Linked DNA regions of Homo sapiens: regions 1, 2, 3, 4, 6 and 7 are each linked to region 5. The links are contacts of gene promoters, found by promoter capture Hi-C in blood cells and fetal thymus (Javierre and others, 2016). All regions are on one chromosome and are shown on one strand. The core of a region is centred on a gene start or on the middle of the fragment in contact, and the rest is flanking DNA. Distances in the headings are between cores, read along the strand shown.

Region 1 (2,763 bases), core at 96-2,595, 660 kb after region 5:
ATTGCTTCTGTGAACCCAAAATATCTGATAGGTCTCAACCAATTTAGAAAGTTTATTTTGTCAAGGTTAAGGACATGCCCGTGACATAAAAGGACATGCCCGTGACATAGCCTCAGGAGGTCCTGATGACATGTGCCCAAGATGGTCAGGGTACAACTTGCTTTTATACATTTCAGAGGGACATGAGACATCAATCAGTATGTGTAACATGTACATTGGTTTGGTCTAGGTAAGGCAGGACAAATCAAAGCAGGGGCTTCCAGGTCATAGATAGATAAGAGATAAAGGTTACATTCTTTTGAGTCCTTGATAAGCCTTTCACTGAATACACAATTTAGTCTGGCTCAGTGAATCTGCATTTTTTTTTTTTTTGAGACAGAGTTTCACTCTTGTTGTCCAGGCTGGAGTGCAATGGCATGATCTCGGCTCACTGCAACCTCTGTCTCCCAGGTTCAAGTGATTATCCTGCCTTAGCCTCCTGAGTAGCTGGGATTACAGGCATGCACCACCACGTCCAGCAAATTTTTTGTATTTTTAGTAGAGACAGGGTTTCTCCATGTTGGTCAGGCTGGTCTCGAACTCCCGACCTTGGGTAATCCACCCGTCTCAGCCTCCCAAAGTGCTGGGATTACAGGCGTGAGCCACCGTGATCGGCACATTTTTACATAAGCAATCAGATATGCGTTTGTCTCAGATGAGCAGAGGGTGACTTTCTGTCCAGCACCTGTGAAGATAAGCTTTTCCTTGTGGGCAAATTGTGCTTTGTAGCTATCTTATTTAGGAATTAAAATGGGAGGCAGGTTTGCCTGCTGGAGTTCTCAGCTTGACTTTTCCCTTGGCTTAGTGATTTTGGGGTCCTGAGATTTATTTTCCTTTCACATTTCTGTAGCCTCAAGATGGCATATGAACTTCTGTACCTCACTGTGGAGCGGGGTCTTTGTTCTGAAGGCTGCTATGTATACATATGAAATAAATGTGTGTGATCTTTCTTTTAATGTCTGTTAATTAATCTGCCTCATGTCAGTGATTTTCAGTGAACCTCCAGGGGGCCAAGGGCTTTGGCCCCTACAGTATGGACATACAATTTTGTTTCTCTTAGGGAAATACCTATGAATGGAATGACTGGGTTATACATTGGAGGTATGTCTAACTAAAAGACTCCCTTCCAAACTGTTTTTCAAAGTGGTTGTACCGTTTTACATTCCCACCAGCATTGTATGAAAGTTTCAGTTGCTCTCATATCCTCTCCTGTCTTTTTTAATTGCTATCATCTGTCTTTTTGATTTTAGACATTGTAATAGGTATGTAGTACTATCTAATTGTGATTTAAATTTGCATTCCACTAATGACTAATGACGTGCCCCATCTTTAACGCAACATTTCCCTTTACTTGCAGGTTATTTTGCTTTGCAAGTTGGAAAGGCAAGATTAAAATACAAAGTTACGCCCCCAGCAGTCACTGGGTCACCAGAGTTTGAGAGAGTATTTCGGGCACAGTAAGTAATGCTTCTTCCACCCTTCATGGATCTGTGCCTGCCATACAGACACAATTCCTGACTAGGGGAAAGGGATATGGAGAAGACCCTAAGTTCATGTGCAATATCTAGTTATAACAAGTCACTCTTCACAGCCAAGACCGTTCTCAGAATCCAGAAAGTTTGAAGGGTTCGGGGCATGAAGTCTCTGCCCACATCTATTACCAATTCAGCAGGGTATATTTACAGAAAAGGCTGGGATCTCAGGAGGGACTGCTGTGTCTCCCAAGGAGGGTCACTGGGTCAAAGAGGCCCCCTGGAGCCTTGTGAGACCACAATAGTCTGAAGTTGGATTCGTTATGCTACAATTTTCTATCTTATTTTTTCCTCCCTACTTCAAAACAGAGGTAGATCAGGATTAATCTTTTGCCAGTTTCTCTGTGAACCATTTCTTAAAATCAGAAACCTGTAAGAATGAGAAAGCTTGCCAGCTCACATGCATGCGCCATGTTTTTTGATCATCTTGTGCTCCTTGTTTTTTCAGACCCACACAAAATGTTCCACCATAAACACCGTGAACTTGCCTGCTGCAGGAATGCTAGGGCGTACTTTATATTTCATCCCCCAAAATACGTGCTTTAAGAAACATTTCATGCGTCACCACTGATATATCATTGGGTTCTTTTGTTACCATCTTGGGATTTTTCATTTATGTTTACAAGTGAGATTGGCCTACACTTTGCCTTTCTTGTCTGGTTCTTGTCTCATTTTGATACAGATGAACCTAGTGTCAAATGAGTTGGAGGAAGCATCCTGTTCTACTTTCTCAGATAATTTTAATAAGGTTGGAAGAGTGTGTTCCTTCAAGGTTGTGTAGAACTTGCCTTAAAATAATCTGGGCCTAATGTTTTTCTGGTGGGAAATTTTTAAATTATGGGATTTGCATTCTTTAATGATTATTGGACTAGGCAGGCTTTTTGTTACATCTTGAATCAATTTTGGTAGGCCTTGGTCCTTGAGATGATAACATTGGTCTCTTGATTATCCACTTGCTCCAAGGAGGGTTTTACAGACTACTCCCTAGGCTTGAAAGCGTGGGGTGAATACCACCGGGAGTACACGAGATAATTGTAAGAGGTGTGTAGACTTGGTTTTAAATAACATTGAACTACATGATGAGAAGTCATTCTCATTTCAATTATCTTTGAATCCTTATGGTTAAGTCAAGTGGAAAGTATTGGTTTGGAGCCAGCATGTCCCACACCTCAAAATTAATGTTTATTTTTAT
Region 2 (2,815 bases), core at 127-2,626, 780 kb before region 5:
CTCCATCATTTATACAATTTTTTATGTATAATTTAAAATCTGATTATGTCATTTTAGTGCTTTCAAAATATGTTCAGGATATGCAAAAAGCCTTCACATTGCATTCAAGGCTCCATCTGGTCTAAGCTCTCCCTACTTCTTCAGTTAGCTTCTTCCCACTAGAAGGATATGAATCTTCTCTGCCTGCAGCCTCTGCAACTAATTGACTATGTTTTATACTTCAGATCTTAGTTCAATTTTCCTTTCCCAGGGGAAAACTTCTCCAACCTATGACTGGGCCAGATCTCTTGGAGTATATTCATACTGAAGCCCTTGGCCTGTCTTCCACAGTGCTTATCACAATAGCAATTTTATATTTACCTATGTGATTTCTCGATTGATAATGATTTCCTCCCACTTGACTCTGAGCTCTAAGGGTACAAAATCATATCTATCTTAATCACAGTTTTACCTCCAGTGTTTAGAACAGTGTCTATCATATAGTGGAAACCCAATATATATTGAATATATAGTGCACACGCAAATTCGGTTTAATGACCCCTGCTGTGTACAGATAGATAATATTTCTGTCCTTGAAATCTGTGTTTTACAGATTATTTCTGGCAATACTAACTTAATCTAAAGGTATAATTTTAATGGGAAGTACTTAGGAACTATGGGTATTAGTAAAAGAAGAGAAATATTTACATACTTAGATATTTTGTCCCTCCTCATGTCATTTGTTATTCTGCCTATTTAAAAGGCCAACTCAGCAATATGAGTATGTTATGACAAAGAGATATATGAACATATTTTAAAAGCTTCTAGAATACAAAGGTACTTTCCTCTGTCAACAGACACACACACACAGAGAAAAGTAGTTTTTTTTTTTAAATTAAAGTAACATTTGATTATCCGCTACCTGGGAGCAGAAATTGTGGCTGATTTCATTTTAGATCTCTTTTTATTGCCATTTACCATTCAGTAGCAGTTTGTGGAATAAATAAATTAATATATGAATATTTTATCTGTGCTACTGTAAGATATAAGCTATATTTATATGGAATGATCATGTTCATCATAATGCTAAGCAATGAGCCAAAGTTACACAACTAATACATGGCTGAAGACGGAGTCAAGTCCAACTGTATTAAGCTCCAAAGCCCGCCAGCCTGACAGGCCAGCAGTCAATAAGTAGTACATGCATTTGAATGCTGAGTATGTTGTACACAATATATTGTAACTTTAAACTTTCAATTACTTATTCAAAAATAATTTAATATATGCCAAAAAAAGGGCACTGACCTAAGTAGTATATGGGTTACAAAAAGATCTTATCTTTGTATGCTTGAAATGTTGGCAGTTTTAAAAGGGAAACAAAATATAGACACCTAAAATATTAAGGAAGAATAGAAGGTATCATGCTCAATGCCAAATGTGAAGCAGAGATAGAATTTTCAGAAGAATTTAGAGATGAAAGAAATAACATAAATTAGAATAAACAGGAAATTAATTGTGGGAAAGAAAGGATTTAAGATGACCTTTGAAGAGCAGATAAGATTGAGATAACCAAAAGGAATAGAAGTGCATTCCTGATAGAGGAATTTCAGGAAAGGAAAAAAATACTTATTATTATTTCATTATAACAATTTTAAATAATGCAGAGTGTTTAAAATGAAAAAGCCTTCATGAAGCATATACTACTTTGAAGATCTTTTTTTGGTTAAAAAAAAAAAGACTTCTAACACTGTAAAACTCATGATTAGTGTTGTCAATACTTACTAGCACTGTATTTGGCACTTAGCCATAAAAGCTCACATGAACTCTCAATCACATATGTTTGATAAGTTTGATAAGAGCAAGTTTCCCTAGTAATATCCATTAAATTCTGTAATCAGACTGTGCACATCACATTTTATCAAAGTAGTTAGCCTTAAGGAACTGTGATACTCTGAAATGCTCATATGACATCATAAGCTTCCCACAAAGTCGAAGGAAATTTGCTATTCAGAGTGACTTAGCACTATTCAGTGTGATTTTAAACCAAGACAAGCAGGAATGTAAACACATTGTTACAACAATAAAATCAAAAAAGACTTTTGGAACTGTAGTTCCTAATCTGTTTAATATAAGGAAATGAGTCATTTGACTCTGTCATGCAAACTCTGTTTTTTATGAAGTATAAGACTTGGTGACCAACTAAGTTGTGAGGCACAGAAGTGTCTTGGTCACAATGACTAAGTAAAGTTAAATGCCTTAATGATATAATCTACAATAAGAGAAAACTTCAATATTTAATTTGGTCTAGTTGGTCAAAAGGTATCCAGGTGAATTTTCATGTTCATATTCTTTCAAGTAAGCATCTTTCTCCTGGAAGTGTCAAAGAGAATAGCTGAGGGTCAAAGAAAGGTAGATATTTCTAAAAGTTTGGCATTGCTGGTGAACTGCTTGTCAGTGATAAAATTGCATTAAAAATATCTTAATTCAGAAAGGTACTTTATCACAGGCTTTATATCCTGAGGTAGACATGTTTATCATGTAGTCACATGACATGCATGTGTCTAACCAGTTAAAAATAATCAAGGTGATTCATAAGAATGAATTGGTTTATTTTTTCTTAATTCTTTCTACTATGCTCTTACCGTATTATGAGGAGTTCCACCCAGACTCGTACAAAAGCTGGTAATGGACCAAAGACTTCCAAAATATATGTGTAATGACCTCCAGATTTCTTTATAGTTGTTCCCAATTCAGCATAAGACAAAGCTCCTGTGAAATATTTGTCACAAAATGGTACCAATTTAATACATTTTCAAGACACCCAGCATTAGAATAG
Region 3 (2,997 bases), core at 214-2,713, 650 kb after region 5:
TGTGTGACTTTGTGTGTGTGGGGAGGGCTGCATGTGCTGAGAGCTGTCAAGAATGGGGACTTCTATTTCTCCTCACCAATCTCTAGATCCTGCTTTATTTTATCCTCTCCTAAGCCTTATGCAAACTTAAGACAACTCAGGTTGAGACCCTCTATTACTGTCAAAAGCCATTTTGAAGCAATTCAAATGTTCTGTTTCTATTCTTCTGGGAAATCTGTGCTGTCTCAGAAATTCTAATGGCATTCTAAAATCATCTGTTGCTTTGTAATATGGCCTTTTCAACAAATAGGCCTAGTCTCTTCTGCTTTCGCCCAGGGTTGGAGGGCATCAGGATGGCAGAGAGAATGGGCAGGGTGGTGACACCTGTGGACAGCCAGCATCATGCCGGGTTCTGTGCTATTTGCTTCCTTCACATGACTTCCTTTATTCATCAGAGGAACCCTGCAAGGTCAGTATTATTATTTCCCTTTGAAAACACATGTCCAGGAAGTTTAGCAACTTTCCACCGTGACACAGAGATAGGAGCTTAAACCTTGTACTCTTTTTTTCTACACTACATTGGTAACTGATCTTTATTTTCCTTGCCTTTCTTCTCTTTTTCTGTCTTTATCTTTGAGCCTTGATATGTCATTACTGGTGCTGGGTAGTGGGCAGTTTCTGCTGGAAGGTAGCTGGCATTCAACTGTAACCCTTTGCCCTGTCTGGTCCAGGGCAAAGTCTCCTCAATGGGAATAAAATGCCTTTGCCTTCTTTAGCTCATTTCTTCACACTCAGGGCTACAAAGCAAAATGCTGCAGTTTCTGAAATGGGAGAAAATATTCCGTAGGATGACTAAAATTTCCTAAATTTTTGCAACATGTAGCAAAATGGAGCATAATTTCAAATTGTGTTTATCTGAGCTTTGCTTAAAAACTTACTGTGTTAAAGCCACTATTAAACCCAGCTACTCAGGAGACTGAGGTGGGAGGGTTGCTTGAACCCTGGAAGTTGAGGCTGCAGTGAGCCATGATCATGTCACTGCACTCCAGCCAGGGTGATAGAGTAAGACCCTGTCTCAAAACAAAACAAAACACAGAAAAACTGCTGTGTAGTTACAAGATTCTTCAACTAGTCAGGACTTCTAGCAAGATAATGTAATGAACTCTGGGTACATGGAGAGTTATGTGGTCATTGATAATCATGATCACTCTGATAGTTCCTGGGAAAGAGGTGTATTTTCTGTCTCTTTCTGCTACCTGGCCTGATGGCAGTGAGGACAGCCCTGCTGTAGTGCTCAGCAGAAACCTGGATGATGTGCTGTCAATTTTGGAAGGGTAGCAAGTGAACAGAGAGGGTGAGACCAGGGAATAATTTGCGGGGGTTGCAATTGGTTTGAGGAAAAACCTTTTTTTTTTTTTTTTTTTTTTTTTGAGATGGAGACAGAGCTTGGCAGAGCAAGCTCTGTCACCCAGGCTGGAGTGTTGTAGCGCATTCTCGGCTCACTGCAACTTCCACCTCTTGGGTTCAAGTGATTCTCATGTCTCAGCCTCCCCAGTAGCTGGGATTACAGATGTGCACCATCATGCCTGGCTAATTTTTGTATTTTTAGTAGAGATGGGGTTTCACCATGTTGGCTAGGCTGGTCTTGAACTCCTGACCTCAGGTGATCCACCCACCTTGGCCTCCCAAAGTTCTGGGATTACAAGTGTGAGCCACCATGCCCGGCTGAGGAAAAACATTTCTATAGTTTAATATATCATTTCTTTTCATCTATTACCAAAATTATACTGAAAGAGTTACATTTAGAGTTCACATTTCATGAAAGCAGTTCTTTTACATGGTTCAGGTTTGTTTTTATGTGATCAAATCTTGGCCTCTCTGTTTCACCTTACCTAGAGTATAGTTTTGGTAACAGTGATTCAGTAGTAACCAAAGTCCTCAGAAAGTCTTTTAGGTTTCTTTTGAGTTTACATAGATAATAAAAATATTTTAAAAACATTTTACTATCATTACTGTCTTATTCCATTTTGTTGCTATAACAGAATACCACACACTGGGTAATTTATAAAGAAAAGAAATTTATTTCTCACAGTTCTGGAGGTTAGGAGGTTTAATATCAAGGTGCTGGCATCTGGTAAGGACCTTTGTGCTATGTCATCCCAAAGCGGGGGGGCAAGAGAGGGCCAAGCTCACATTTATAACAATCCACTCCTATAACAACATTAATCCATTCATGGGAGCAGAGCTCTCATGGCCTAATCACCCCTTATTGTCCTACCTCTTAATACCATTATAATGGAAGTTAAATTTTAACATGAGTTTTGGAGGGGACAAACATTCAGACCATAGCAATTACCAGTATGCTGTTTGTCCTCTTATTTTCCTTTTCATAGAAAAATGTAATAAATGGAACATACTAGAAGGATCTATGGGAACAACATTCAGGGAAAATGCCATTCCTCTTCAACCAATCCAGGGAAAACGTACAGAGAAACTCTAATTTTTGTGAGTTTTTGTTAATGCTATGGCAGTATTTCAGCTGTGGGTCACCTGGAAATTTTATCACTGCAGAAGGTGATAAACATTTCATTATACAATGCTCTATTCTTTTATACTTTCCTAGAGGCAATAACTACATATACCGACAATGAAGATCTTTTTAAATAGACACGTGGGGTTTTGAAGCACTTGAGATTTTATTGATTAATTGATTTTTTATTTTTTTACTTTGTGTCAACCATCTCTTAGAATCTGGATTTGGGGGACTGACTTAAGATTGGCTGGGAGAAGTCAGTAGGGAACCTCAGGATTTGTCCAGAAGCTGGGAAGTTTCATTTTTTTTTTTTTTTTGAGACGAAGTCTCGCTCTGTCACCCAGGCTGGAGTGCAGTGGCACGATCTCAGCTCACTGCAAGCTCCGCTTTCGAGGTTCACGCCATTCTCCTGCCTCAGCCTCCCGAGTAGCTGGGACTACAGGCGCCCGCCAACACGCCCGGCTAATTTTTTTGTATTTTTAGTA
Region 4 (3,073 bases), core at 315-2,814, 960 kb before region 5:
TGATAACTAGGAATTTAGAATGTTTTTGAAGTGAAGTCATGTTTCATCCTTACACAGCTTATGGAAAAAAAATGTGGAAACAAGAAAAGAAACTACAGAGCAGAGACAATGCATATGAAAGAGGAGAAGCACCCCAGAAGAGGACCCCTTTCCTTTTCTGTCCTTCACATATACAAGTCTTAGTGTAGAGGGCTTAGAAGTATGTGTTGTGCAGTGTTTGTAAAACTTTTATTTATAGAAGGTTTGAAATTATCCATTATGAGTCAGATGTGCAAATATGCAATTTTCCGTATTTCTCCCTACTGCATTCAACTTATTCTCTGAGCCTTCTTTTAAAAATGTAATGCAGGCTTCTCCAGGTAACTCAGCCACATCTGATTGGAAAAGATCTCAAGGTAATTATTTTGTTAATAGAGATACAAAACTCCGACAAGTCCTTTTTCAAACTCTGTAGCAACAATACATACACATATTTCTTATATGCTTGCCTCTTGCCTTACTCCTCCATGAGAAAGCTTTTGAGAGTAAAAAATTGCTAGCAGAGTATCACAACAGAGGTCGCGCGGGAATGTATTTTACAAGGGCTCTTCTCAGGTTCCAATGGACTGTTATTACTCTTCCCATGAGTCTTTTTGTGGCCACCTTGGTTCTTTCTGTATCTACATCTAACGTAAAGTGGTCCCATCTTGCCTTTGCACACCTACAAGCATCCTTGCTGGCACCCAAAACCCGTAGCATAGCCTTGATATCTACACATTGTATTTGCTCATCTCAACCTAGGTCTCCTATGATTTACCAACCTTCTTTGCAAATCCACATGTTCCATTAAGGCATGAAGCAATTTCTTGATTTTCTTTACACCAGGTCTTTCATAACTCTGAGATGTAGTGGAAGACACTATCTCAAGCCCTCTTTCTGCCTGAAAAATCCAAAACCTTTGGATAAAACATTTTGGGCATCCCATTTGGAGAGCATAATGAAGCTTTGCCTCCCGGAAGGGAACAGAGAACATGCCTCTTCTCCCTGAAATTACCAAAGATGTGGGAGTGAGCTTCTCACTGAAGCCTCAAAGTGTTTCTTTCTTTCTTGTTCCAATGCTTTCCTCTAGCTGAGGAAAGCTTTTATCTAATCCCTGTTTGGCAGGAAATTGTCCCGAAGCTATCCTTCCTATTTTATAGTTTATAGTAAAAATGTCATGTTCAATTCTCTATACTTTTGTTCTTGATGTTTAAAGGGAAAAATCTGGAATTTAGAAAACTGTTTTCAAGTGTTTGTCGTTTGCTACTGAAAGCCCATATTTTAGTAATATAATCTCAGAAATGGACTTCAAGAGCCTATTTTAAAGGGTGAGGGGTTGACTTTGACTCTTTTGTTCTCTTTGCATTTCAGCTATAACAATCCTAATATGGTAATGTGCTGCTTGGAAATAATCTGCAACTGATGTAGACATCTTGCTAAGTAGTTGTATGTATTATTCATTTTATACTCACAACATTGAACAAATGAGGATACTGAGGTACAGAGAGATTAATTAGCTCATGCAGGACCACACAGTTAGTGATGAAACCAGGCAATGAAGCCAGGCAGCTTGCATCCAGAGCCTACACTCTGCTATGCTACACCACTTAGGGCAATCTGCGCTGATCCAGAAGGGGAGGAGTCACATATAAAGAAGCGAAAAACAGAAATTCCATTTGAAAATATCTAATTATGTATGTGTATATATATTTATTAGTGCCTAATTTAATGTGTAGTAATATATACAGTTCCAATTCTGATCACAATCTCAATCTTTCACAACAAATCTTTTAGTCATACTTGGAAAATTCTGGATTAAAGACCTTTCTGATACCATCATCTATTATTTCTGGGTGTGGGGAACTTAGCTACGAGAGTGCACAGAAATGCACAAAACTAGGGAGGCACATTCTCTTCCATAATGCTGTGTCCACCCAGTATATTTCTCTCTCGGTGTATTCCATCTTTCACTGGAGCTAATAGTCATAGAAGTTAAGCTTTTCTCCTATGCCTAAAATTGTGTTTTTATTTTCATGTGGATGGTTTCTCTTTGTAATTATGTGAACAACTCATAAGCATGCTTAATGAATCACATCTTGATTCCTTGCAACTCATTGGAGAAATATGTTATCATACTTCAAACATAATCAGGAAATGTCATACCTATTAATGGGTTCATTGTGACAAGTCATGAAAATATTACAATGTGTAACTTGGAATCCAGTAAACAATATTAGAAGAGATTTTCTAAAGTATAATTACAATTTTTTCTCTATATGTGCCGAAAAAAGCGTTGTCAGGAGAAAGAAAGTGTACTGGCTTATCACGTGATTCTTATCTTGATTTAAGTCATGTTATTACTTATACACTATCCATTAATTCCGAAGAAGACCTAGTGTACTTTAATATATCAAACTATGAAATACAAATTTATATTTCTTTCTTGATTTATATTCTTATTTTGATTTAAGATATATTTTATCATGCAACTTTTTTGCATTTTATATCATGTATGAAATCAATGAAAGTATTCTACATATATGATATCAAAAATAAATAATACTAAATTATATTACATATGAGTCAGTGTGGAAACAAAGATAAAAGCAAAACTAGTTTGGTTTCTGAAGTACTGCCCTTCCATCATGTATCATTGTTTAGTTAAGGTAACAGAAACTTCAACTGGTGTTTCAATTGGAGGAAATTTAATACACGGTATAGTTACAAAAGGGTCAGAAAGCCTAGAATAGCCAAAAGAGAAAAGTAAACTTCCTTGATTGGTATCTGCAGGAAGCAACCACCATCCTAGGCTAGAGGAGCAGAAGGGGTATAGTGTCACCTATAGCCACGGTCCCTGCCCACCTGGAGCTGCTGGAGTCCCACTGCTGCTACTCCTATTTGGAACCACTGCTGAAGCTGCCTTGCAGAAAACTCTTGCAGGAACTTGCAGGAACTCCCATGTTCCTGATAGTGTGGGAAACTTGGGGCCCAAAGCTACCTGCAGATGTCACAGAACATGGATAGCTGGGACAGCTGGGACAGATAGAGGCAGGAC
Region 5 (2,948 bases), core at 109-2,608:
TAATGACTTCCAAGGAGCTTGTCTGCCAGAAGTTGTAATCAACTTGTGCCAGCTGATCTGTCCACACCCTCTATCCACAGGTGTTAGATATGTAACCTAGGTCTGAAAAATATTTAGAATATTCTTGTGATGAAAAGCTTGCAATTCCACAACACAGGGGAATCAGCAAAATCATGGGAAAACCAATAGAATACATTTCTAACTCATGAATCATTCAGAGAAAAATCCAGTCTTGGGTTTTCCCTCCCCCTCATCCCATTTCTATTCCTGATTAGTCATCATTTCCTGCCCAGCCTGTCTGAGATGTTTCTTCCATCCTTTCTTTTCCAGTAACAGTAACCTGGTGCGGGTCTACAGTATCTGTTATCTCAGCTGATTTCCTTTCTGCCTTTTCATGAACCAGAGACATGTGATTTCCAATTAAAGCACAGCCCTGACCATGTCTTTGCTCAGCTTACAAAACGTCAACGGCTCGCAGCTATCCACCGAATTAAGCCTACTATAATCCCCTTCCTTCCACACTACAACCTATCCACGCATCTGTCCTCTTACTCCTTAGCTTCCATCTTACATGACTAAGAGTTGTTTCCCCAAATACACCCTTATTTACTTTTTTCATTTATAACTCACCACCACCCCCTCCAAAGTTTCACGTGGGTAAATTCTAGACCTCCACGTCATAGGCCAACTCAAATGCCAATCCTTCTAATGAACCTTCTAGAGAGCCCGGGCCTGTTGTCATCTCTATAGCCAATCTTTGGCATCTTGTGGCAATAATCTCATTCTACCTTGTAGAGCTTTCTGGTCTGACTTCCCTTGCCACCTTCTGCTCCCTTTGCCTAAGTATAACACTTTTGAGGAAAAGAACGCTGTTTTAATCATCGTCGCCTCGCCCACAGGCGGTGCTTTATTGTGCTTAATATCGTTTAACGCATCACACACTGCCGAGGGGGTCGGAGGCGGACGCCTTTTGCTGTATCCACACAGACCCGCGCAGGCACACACGTAGGCCGTCTGCCACTCTGACAGACACGTGTCCCCTGGGCCACAGCCCTGGAACTGTCTCGGGATTCCCAGCCTGTGGGCGCTTCCATGCTGGCCAGCGGAAGGGGACGCTTTTTTCTTCAGAACAGCTCCAACGGATACCTCTTATTTTAGACCGCCTGCGGATTCTATCTATAAATCAGCCTAAGCCCCGCTTCCTTTTAAAACAGGATTACGCCGGGTCGAGGGAGCCTGGCGTGGCCGCGCAGTGGCCGGGTCCCGCGGATTCCCCTCCAGCTCCCGCTTGGTAGCGCCCGCTTTGTCAGCGCGCAGCGCTCGCCGGGCGCCCTGCAGGTCTCGCCAGGTCTCACAGCAGACGGTGCCGACGCAGCGGTGTTGCACCTCCCTCTCCGGCTCTGCTGCCCGGGATTTCCCCAGAACCTGCGCCGCGCGAGAAGGAGCCTGGGAGCATCCGCCCACACTGCCCGGACAGTCGGCTCGACTCGGTGCCCTCGGCCCCAGCCGGGCTCCGCTCCTCGGGCGCGCGAGGGGCCGTGGTGGCGGCGGCGCCCGGCATGTTTCATAGTCCGCGGCGGCTCTGCTCGGCCCTGCTGCAGAGGGACGCGCCCGGCCTGCGCCGCCTGCCCGCCCCAGGGCTGCGCCGCCCGTTGTCCCCGCCGGCTGCTGTTCCCAGGCCCGCATCCCCCCGGCTGCTGGCGGCGGCCTCGGCGGCCTCGGGCGCCGCGAGGTCGTGTTCCCGAACAGGTGAGTGCACCCCAGTTCCGGGCGGAGAACGCCACGGCCGCCAACGCGCGGCCGCCACCTGGAGACCGCGCGGAATGAATGAGAAGCCCGGGGCTGCCGGTCGTGGAGTCTGGCCTGAAAGTGGGTCCTTTACCGGAGCAACCTTCTGCGTTCCCTTTTTCCTCTTTCCCTGTTCCCCGACTTGCCTGGGGCTTGCATCAAAGCTAGTAAGAACTGGGAGACTGTATTCAGGTTCCCGCTTGACCCTTAGAGGCCATGCTTTCAGAATTTCTTGTTCTTGACCGTTAAATTTCCCCCTTCCGAGGCCGCGAGTTACTATGTTGGTTACATTTTTTATTGCACGACTTAACGGAAATTTTTATGGAAAAAAAAATCTAAATGATGCTTATTTGCTTATATAGCTTTCATGGTCTAGATATTAAGTTTTTTTTTTAAGTCGTGATAATAACACATTGATTCGTTTTACGTTGTTTTTTTTTTTTTTTTTTTTTTTTTTTTTTGAGATGGAGTCTCACTGTGTCACCCAGGCTGGAGTCCAGTGGCACGATATCGGCTTACCGCAACCTCCCGCTCCCGGGTTCAAGCGATTCTCCTGCCTCAGCCTCCCGAGTAGCTGGGATTACAGGCGCCAGTCACCACGCCTAGCTAACTTTTGTATATTTAGTAGAGACGGGGGTTTCACCATTTTGGCCAGGCTGGTCTTGAACTCCTGACCTCGTGATCCACCCGCCTCAGCCTCCCAGAGTGCTGGGATCACAGGCGTGAGCCACCGCGCTCGGCCATTTTACGTTTCTTTGGATTTTTTTTTTTTGGAGGCTTCCACTCTTTATAGTTAACATCATTTTTTGTCCTGTGTATCTAAGATCTTGTAAAAGTGAGGCCTTAGTTTCACCAAGAGCTGTTTTCATACATCATAATAACTACCCTGAGTTTTCCTTTTTTGCTACCTCTGTTTCTGCCTGGGCACACATTACCATGGCCACAAATTACATACAAATTAATTATACTTTAAAAATTGATAAATTTTTTCTTTCAAAACTAGGCAATACATAACTTTTTTTTTTTTTTTTTTTGAGACGGAGTTTTGCTCTTATTTCCCAGGCTGGAGTGCAATGGCGCGATCTCGGCTCACCGCAACCTCTGCCTCCCGGGTTCAAGCGATTCTCCTGCCTCAACCTCCCGAGAAGCTGGGATTACAG
Region 6 (3,092 bases), core at 307-2,806, 830 kb before region 5:
TGCTGTGAGTTCAAAGGAAGCTCAAGATCGTGAGTATCTAATAATGCAACAGCGCAGATAATCCCATGAAATTAGAGGTGACATGCTGTGAAGTACGGACGACCGGACAGTGCTGACATTATGTGGCATCAAGAAGTACCCGACACAAATGCAATATTATGTCTTCATTTAATGCACTGGGAAAGCCAGGAAGTTACTGACCCTAATAATTTGATTCCACGTTACCAATACACATTACTTGCTTAACATAATCGCCTCTTCAGACTCTCTCCAGTTCAGGCAACTTAAACCTTCAACTGCCTGCACAAAGGCTGATCGTTTTTCAGCCATAGTGCTTATCAGCCCTCACGGAGCCTTCACCCTGCTGGGTGCCACTAATGAAGACCTCAATATAATTTCTTCCAAGATGAAAATGCAGTTCAGAATCAGGGGGGAAAAGGCACAGCCTGCCTCACTACCCAAGCTGGGTGTTTTTAGCACACTAAGTCCCAGCACATTATACCGAACAGCGATATCCCCTGTTGAAAACATGCTAGCCTAGCCAGTCAGCAACTGTCATTCATTATGCTGCTTGGAGCCTGACACTTCCCCGGATTCCCAAAGCCTTCAGCCTTGATGAGGAAACACATTGACCTCTAAATCCTGACATCCTAATATGAAAGTAGCAGATGGTCCCCTTCCCTAGTGTGAAGAGGGTCCTGTGGAATTTTCTGTTAACACTATAACATGCACTGCTAGTTGTGGTTGATAAATGCTACATTTAAGTAAAGAAAATCACTGAGCCAATCAAATATAAAAGGATAAATGGCATAAAGCAAATTAAAGATGAATTCTGTTTCTTCGTAAGAAGGGCTATTGTAAATGCAAAAGGGTAAGAAGGAGAACATGAAGGTGTATACACAGCTTTTCAACCACTCAGTGTATTATTTTGACCTTGAATCCTTTCAGCTTTTATAAGATCCCCATATGGGGAGTAAATTCTTTCTATGGAGGAGAGAGGAAGAGAGGAAAAGAAGAAGAGAAAAAGACTCTCTGTTCCTTGCAAGCATATGCTTAAGGTATATAAAGTTTCCATTGATAAAAAATGAAGTGACATTATTAATTGCAGTGAAGTAACCTATCCAAAACAGAGAGTACGGTCACATCACATGATGCTGCAAAATAGCAGAAAGAAGTAAGTCTGAAATTTGGGATTGTGGCTCTCCCAGCATAGAATTTACCTTCCCAGTCCAGCTCCTCCAAGTCAGCCCCCTGCCTGTTTCCTGCCTAGACATTACAGTCTCTCTGAGGGCCGTTTCCTAAATTGATCTAAGCAGAAGGGAACCTAGAAAATCTAACCTTCTAGGTTGGTTTCCCTTCATTCTGTTTGTTAATAACAAAAATAACAGGAGCAGCTGCTACCATTGGGCTGCTATGTGCCCAACATTTTATTAGGCACTTTACATACGTGTCTCCTTTTGTCCTTAGAAAATTCTGTGAGTTAGGAACATCAGCACATTTTATATATGAGAAAAATAAAGTCTTCGAGAGCTTAAATAACTATTTAAGGATACACAATTAGTAAGTGGAAGCCCCAGAATTCAGGTGCATACACACCCTACCTTGAAATTCGGGCATTTGGACCACCAAAGTGTATTCACTTTCAAGCATGTGGGTCCCTCAACTCTATTACTTTTAAGGAAAATCATGGTTGTTTAATATAAAGTTTATTAGAGCTTTTATCAAACTAGTATTTCTCATGTATTCTTTAACACTACAGTTTTATCTATCATAAAGAAGGGGGCAAACTGATTTCATGATTTTTATCACTTTTCTGTGTAACATGAATTGTAATGTCAAGTGAATGTTTTCAAATCGTTTCACTGTTTGGGAAATAGAATTTTAAAATTATGTATTATTTAAAAGAAAACAGAAGCTCACAATAAATTTCCCTAAAAAAACTTTTTTTTATAGAGAAGGAGGGAAGGTAACCATGCCTCAGATAAACAGAAACAGACTAACAATCTTACTATCAGCCAAATATACTACACAGATATTAGTGAGAAAAATAACAGCTTAAAATATAAACAAAGGAGAAAGAGTCTAATCTTGTTGCAATGCACAGCATATCCAGTAATTTCTCTATAATTATTCTTTTTTAAAAAAATTTTCTTTTTTTTTAAGATAGAGTCTCACTCTGTCGCCCAGACTTGAGTGCAGGGGCACAATCTCAGCTCACTGCAACTGCTGCCTCCCAAGTTCAAGCAACTCTCCTGCCTCAGCCTCCCAGTAGCTGGGATTATAGGCACCCATCACTATACCCAGCTAATTTTTTTATCTTTATTAGAGACAGGGTTTCACCATGTTGGCCAGGCTGTTCTCAAACTCCTGACCTCTAGTGATCCTCCTGCCTCGGCCTACCAAAGTGATGGGATTACAGGCATGAGCCACGACGCCCAGCTGATAATTAGATGGAATTAAGCAATAGCAAGTTGGTTGGGGTATGGCAAAATAGCCACTAGCTTCCATTCTTAGGTTCCATTTCACTTTGACAGAGGGAAGGGGGTGGGGAGGTTCTCTTGGCTGTTTTGGCATAAACAGCCATTATTGACAGAGGAGAGCAGTTGACTCCTTCAGAAGAGCTTGGTCCTACACAGTTAACTCTAGGTTTCAGGTATCAAAGTGTAAGAGCCACTGGGTGAACTGATAAAAGCTATTAGGCCATGCCTGAGCAATCTTTCTGGAGGCTTTAGACGCACAGCGCAGATAGCATTACTAGTAACCCAAGATTAAGGCAAATGGCACTTGATAATGAAGGGAATTAGAGGAAGGAACCAGTAGGCCACGGATATTTCAAAGCCTCTGTGTTCTTGTGAGGTATCCACCAATCCTAAATGCAACAAAAGCATAATTTTTAAGCTGAGTAAAAATGACTCACTCTTAACAAAATTAAGTTCTATTCTTTCTCAAATGTTAGTACATGTTTGTTATGACTAACGAAATACCATTTACAAGAGTTACTTAATCCTAACAGCTTTTTGTCATATATGCTCTTTTCAATTAACAGGCATTAAGTATGTGAGAGTCTGCTATTTTTATTAGTTGTAAATGGT
Region 7 (2,982 bases), core at 450-2,949, 610 kb after region 5:
AAATAATAATCTGAAGAAACTGGTTTCAGCCATAAGAAGAAAAGGCTGGAAACAAACCAAGCTACATCCCTCCTAAGTGTCTTTATTCCAGCTAATTCTGAGGAGCAATCGGGATGCTCTTGAAAGCATTTGCATTGCAAAGTAGGCTGGAAATTGGCCTTGTTTAAACAAGCACTCCCTGTAAGTGCTGCCCACCCTTACCCCCGCTTGGCAGCAGCAACCTGTCCATATGAGAAGCAGCCACGTGAGCCATTGCTGCTGAAAAGAAACCTTTGAGCTGCTCGACTGTTTAACTAATTAATGCCTTGCTCCCCTAAGGTTAGAAAGAAAAGGAGGAGGAAGAATTTGTGGGTGATACACCACTTTGGGTCCATAATATACTTTCAAAGACGAATGCAAGGTGTACTCACTGGGTACTGTTCAAATCTCTTGTGGAATCTTCACTAATCCCTGGCGTTCGGCGGATCACAGCGAGGCCTCTGGCTGCAGAGCCGATCTCAATGGGTCGATAGCAACAGGAAAGACTCTAAAGCTTCTTTTGATCCTAGCATAAATCAGAAGAAAAAAAAATCCACGAGTCCCACCACGGAACATTAGCCGTCTAAGCAGGGATATTTTAAAACTAAGCAACCTCTGAGGCTGACCAGCAGCCAAGAAGCCCAGGGAGTGGAGGACAGCAAATAGGGATGGGGAGGGAGGGTGAGGCCGGTGGGAGCCGGTGTCCTGTGCTGTGACAGATTGACATGTGTCACATACTCCCCTTCTCCCTTTCTCTCTCAAGTTATGCCATTAGAGCCAGACCTACCCAAAATTGTGAAGAAAAGTACAAAGTACAAGTTCCCTCCTTTATTATTATCATTATATTTTTTTTACTGCTCTTTTTTATTTTTATTTTATTTTATTATTATTATACTTTAAGTTTTAGGGTACATGTGCACAATGTGCAGGTTAGTTACATATGTATACATGTGCCATGCTGGTGTGCTGCACCCATTAACTCGTCATTTAGCATTAGGTATATCTCCTAAAGCTATCCCTCCCCCCTCCTCCTCCTTTATTATTACAGTTGACCCCTGCACTGTACAGTTCAACACGGGTTTGAACTTCAAGGGTCCACTTATACTTGGATTTTTTTTTTCAACCAAAGCTAATCGATAATACAGTATTCCCAGGATGCAAAACCTGAGGACTGGCTTTTCACATGGGTTCTGTAGGACTTGAGTATGGACTTGAGTATGTTCGGATTTTGATATCTGTGGGGGTCCTGGAACCAATACCCTGTATATAACCAAGGATGACTGTAGGTTTGTTTGTTTGTTTGTTTGTTTTTCTTAACCATCCTATGTTAGTCTACTCAGGCTGCCATAACAAAATACCACAGACTGGGTGGCTTAAATAGCAGAACTTTATTTTCTCACAGTTCTGGAGGCTGGAAATCCAGGGTCAAGGTGCCAGCAGGCCTCTCTTCCTGGCTTGCGGCTAGCTGCCTTCTTGCCATGTCCTCACATGGCCTTTCCTTTTGGTGTCTCTTCCTCTTCTTATAAAGACACCAGTCCTATTGGAGGAGGGCCCTCCTCTTCTGGCCTTATTTAATCTCAAGTGATCCTCGAAGCTTCTTTAAGGAAATCACTTCCTAAAAGGCCTTAACTCCAAACACAGTCACAGTGGTGATTAGGGCTTCAACATAGGGTTTTTGGGAAGGACACAGTCTAGTCCATAGCATACCTCCCTGCTTTTCTTTCCATGTTTGCACGCCTGTCCCTTTTACTTGTCTCTCCAGTTACACTAAGCTTAACTCAGGAAATGGTCTGACATGGCCCAATGCACTTGAGGAATGGAGAGCTGGATGCTGGAAGGGACCCTTTATTAGGATCTTCTCTAGGAGACAGGATGAGTGTGAAAAAACCAGACTTCAGAGGAGAGTGTGGATCATGCCATGGAGTGTTATGGCTGAAACTAAGTGGTTACTATGCTGTCTTTCTCCTTTTCACACTCAACTTCTAGGAAAACAAAAGCCATGCTGATTTCTCCATTTTCTCACTCCCATTCATTCTCCAACCTAGCCTGGCTTCCATGATGATTCTGAAACATTTTTCAATGGAATGGCTAAAATCTGCCTAGTTAAGTATCTCCTTGTGTTACACCCTATGCACACTTCTTTCATTTATTTAAGTATGCATTCAACTGAGCATTGCATGTAGCCACAGCCCAGTTTCTTCAAGTTTGCCATGTCTGAGGACTTGTAGACCAATGGATCTTCAGTTTTTGGATCATCTTTTAACTAGACTAGGTTGTGGGATTGTATGTAATATTTCTCTCCTTTTATACTTGAATTACAAAAGTGCTTTTCAGATTTCCGACACTGTCACCTACATGATGTCATTTTGTCTTGAGTAACAGCAACATTATGAAGTTCTTTATCAAAATAATTCTATGATTATTGCAATTATGCGTTTCTGAGAAGGAGCAGAATTCATCATAAAGACTGATGACTCTTTTCTTTGGGAAATACCTTGAAAAGACTTTTAAAAATAAGAATGAGATGCCACAGGGGCAGGGATTGTGAAAAGAGGACTGCATGCTGCATGTACATTCACTGTACATGAATTTAAGAGTATTTCCCTATAGGCTTGCAAGAGGGGGCCAGAGGATCATATATATTATAGGAACACCAGGTTTGATTTCCCATTGTGCAGTAATAGATCAATACACCAAAACAGAAGGAGTTGCAACAGAGAAAGGGTTTAATAATGGTAGGGCAGCCAAATGAGGAGACAAGAGGAAACCTCAAATCCACCTCCCTGAGAGGATTGGGGATGAGGTTTTTAAGGGCTCTGTATGGGCAAATGGCTAAAGTGTGGGGATTGTTGATTGGTCCAGAAGTGAGGAGTGAAGTCATGGGACAGGGAGATGAAGAAACAACATTCCTGTGCTGAGTGAGTTTCTTGGTGGGGGTCTTTAAACCGATTGGTGGCAGCCGTT

What was found. The method cuts DNA at HindIII sites, captures the fragments that hold promoters and counts their contacts. A CHiCAGO score of 5 or more calls a contact.
Region 1: a fragment that was not itself captured here is called in contact with the fragment with the promoter of NOCT in region 5 in 1 of 17 cell types (total CD4 T cells); the score reaches 5.4 in total CD4 T cells.
Region 2: a fragment that was not itself captured here is called in contact with the fragment with the promoter of NOCT in region 5 in 2 of 17 cell types (endothelial precursors and M2 macrophages); the score reaches 5.2 in endothelial precursors.
Region 3: a fragment that was not itself captured here is called in contact with the fragment with the promoter of NOCT in region 5 in 7 of 17 cell types (total B cells, total CD4 T cells, naive CD4 T cells and 4 more); the score reaches 7.8 in total B cells.
Region 4: a fragment that was not itself captured here is called in contact with the fragment with the promoter of NOCT in region 5 in 1 of 17 cell types (endothelial precursors); the score reaches 7.1 in endothelial precursors.
Region 6: a contact is called between a fragment that was not itself captured here and the fragment with the promoter of NOCT in region 5, in 1 of 17 cell types (M2 macrophages). The highest score is 5.5, in M2 macrophages.
Region 7: a contact is called between a fragment that was not itself captured here and the fragment with the promoter of NOCT in region 5, in 6 of 17 cell types (total B cells, naive CD8 T cells, naive B cells and 3 more). The highest score is 8.4, in total B cells.

The regions. Positions count from the first base shown.
Region 1 is chr4:139,677,147-139,679,909 of GRCh38, forward strand. MGST2 (microsomal glutathione S-transferase 2) reads left to right here. Exons shown (of 5, transcript NM_002413.5): 2 at 1,397-1,496. Among named protein-coding and RNA genes, the nearest start is that of MGST2, 13 kb to the left of the region's middle. The HindIII fragment of the contact is 1,221 bases long and covers 736-1,956 here.
Region 2 is chr4:138,233,704-138,236,518 of GRCh38, forward strand. It overlaps SLC7A11 (solute carrier family 7 member 11), which reads right to left. Exons shown (of 12, transcript NM_014331.4): 2 at 2,622-2,748. Among named protein-coding and RNA genes, the nearest start is that of SLC7A11, 7.2 kb to the right of the region's middle. The HindIII fragment of the contact is 1,156 bases long and covers 799-1,954 here.
Region 3 is chr4:139,660,271-139,663,267 of GRCh38, forward strand. No RefSeq gene overlaps it. Among named protein-coding and RNA genes, the nearest start is that of MGST2, 4.0 kb to the right of the region's middle. The HindIII fragment of the contact is 5,469 bases long and covers 1-2,997 here.
Region 4 is chr4:138,053,981-138,057,053 of GRCh38, forward strand. All of the region lies in intron 7 of LINC00616 (long intergenic non-protein coding RNA 616), which reads right to left. Among named protein-coding and RNA genes, the nearest start is that of SLC7A11-AS1, 33 kb to the right of the region's middle. The HindIII fragment of the contact is 897 bases long and covers 1,117-2,013 here.
Region 5 is chr4:139,014,423-139,017,370 of GRCh38, forward strand. NOCT (nocturnin) reads left to right here and starts at 1,359. Exons shown (of 3, transcript NM_012118.4): 1 at 1,359-1,749. The coding sequence starts at 1,560. RefSeq lists enhancers at 1-918, 55-976, 1,009-1,358 and a silencer at 1,499-1,798. The HindIII fragment of the contact is 5,482 bases long and covers 136-2,948 here.
Region 6 is chr4:138,185,922-138,189,013 of GRCh38, forward strand. All of the region lies in intron 6 of SLC7A11 (solute carrier family 7 member 11), which reads right to left. Among named protein-coding and RNA genes, the nearest start is that of SLC7A11, 55 kb to the right of the region's middle. The HindIII fragment of the contact is 5,238 bases long and covers 1-3,092 here.
Region 7 is chr4:139,628,132-139,631,113 of GRCh38, forward strand. No RefSeq gene overlaps it. Among named protein-coding and RNA genes, the nearest start is that of QKILA, 6.4 kb to the left of the region's middle. The HindIII fragment of the contact is 178 bases long and covers 1,611-1,788 here.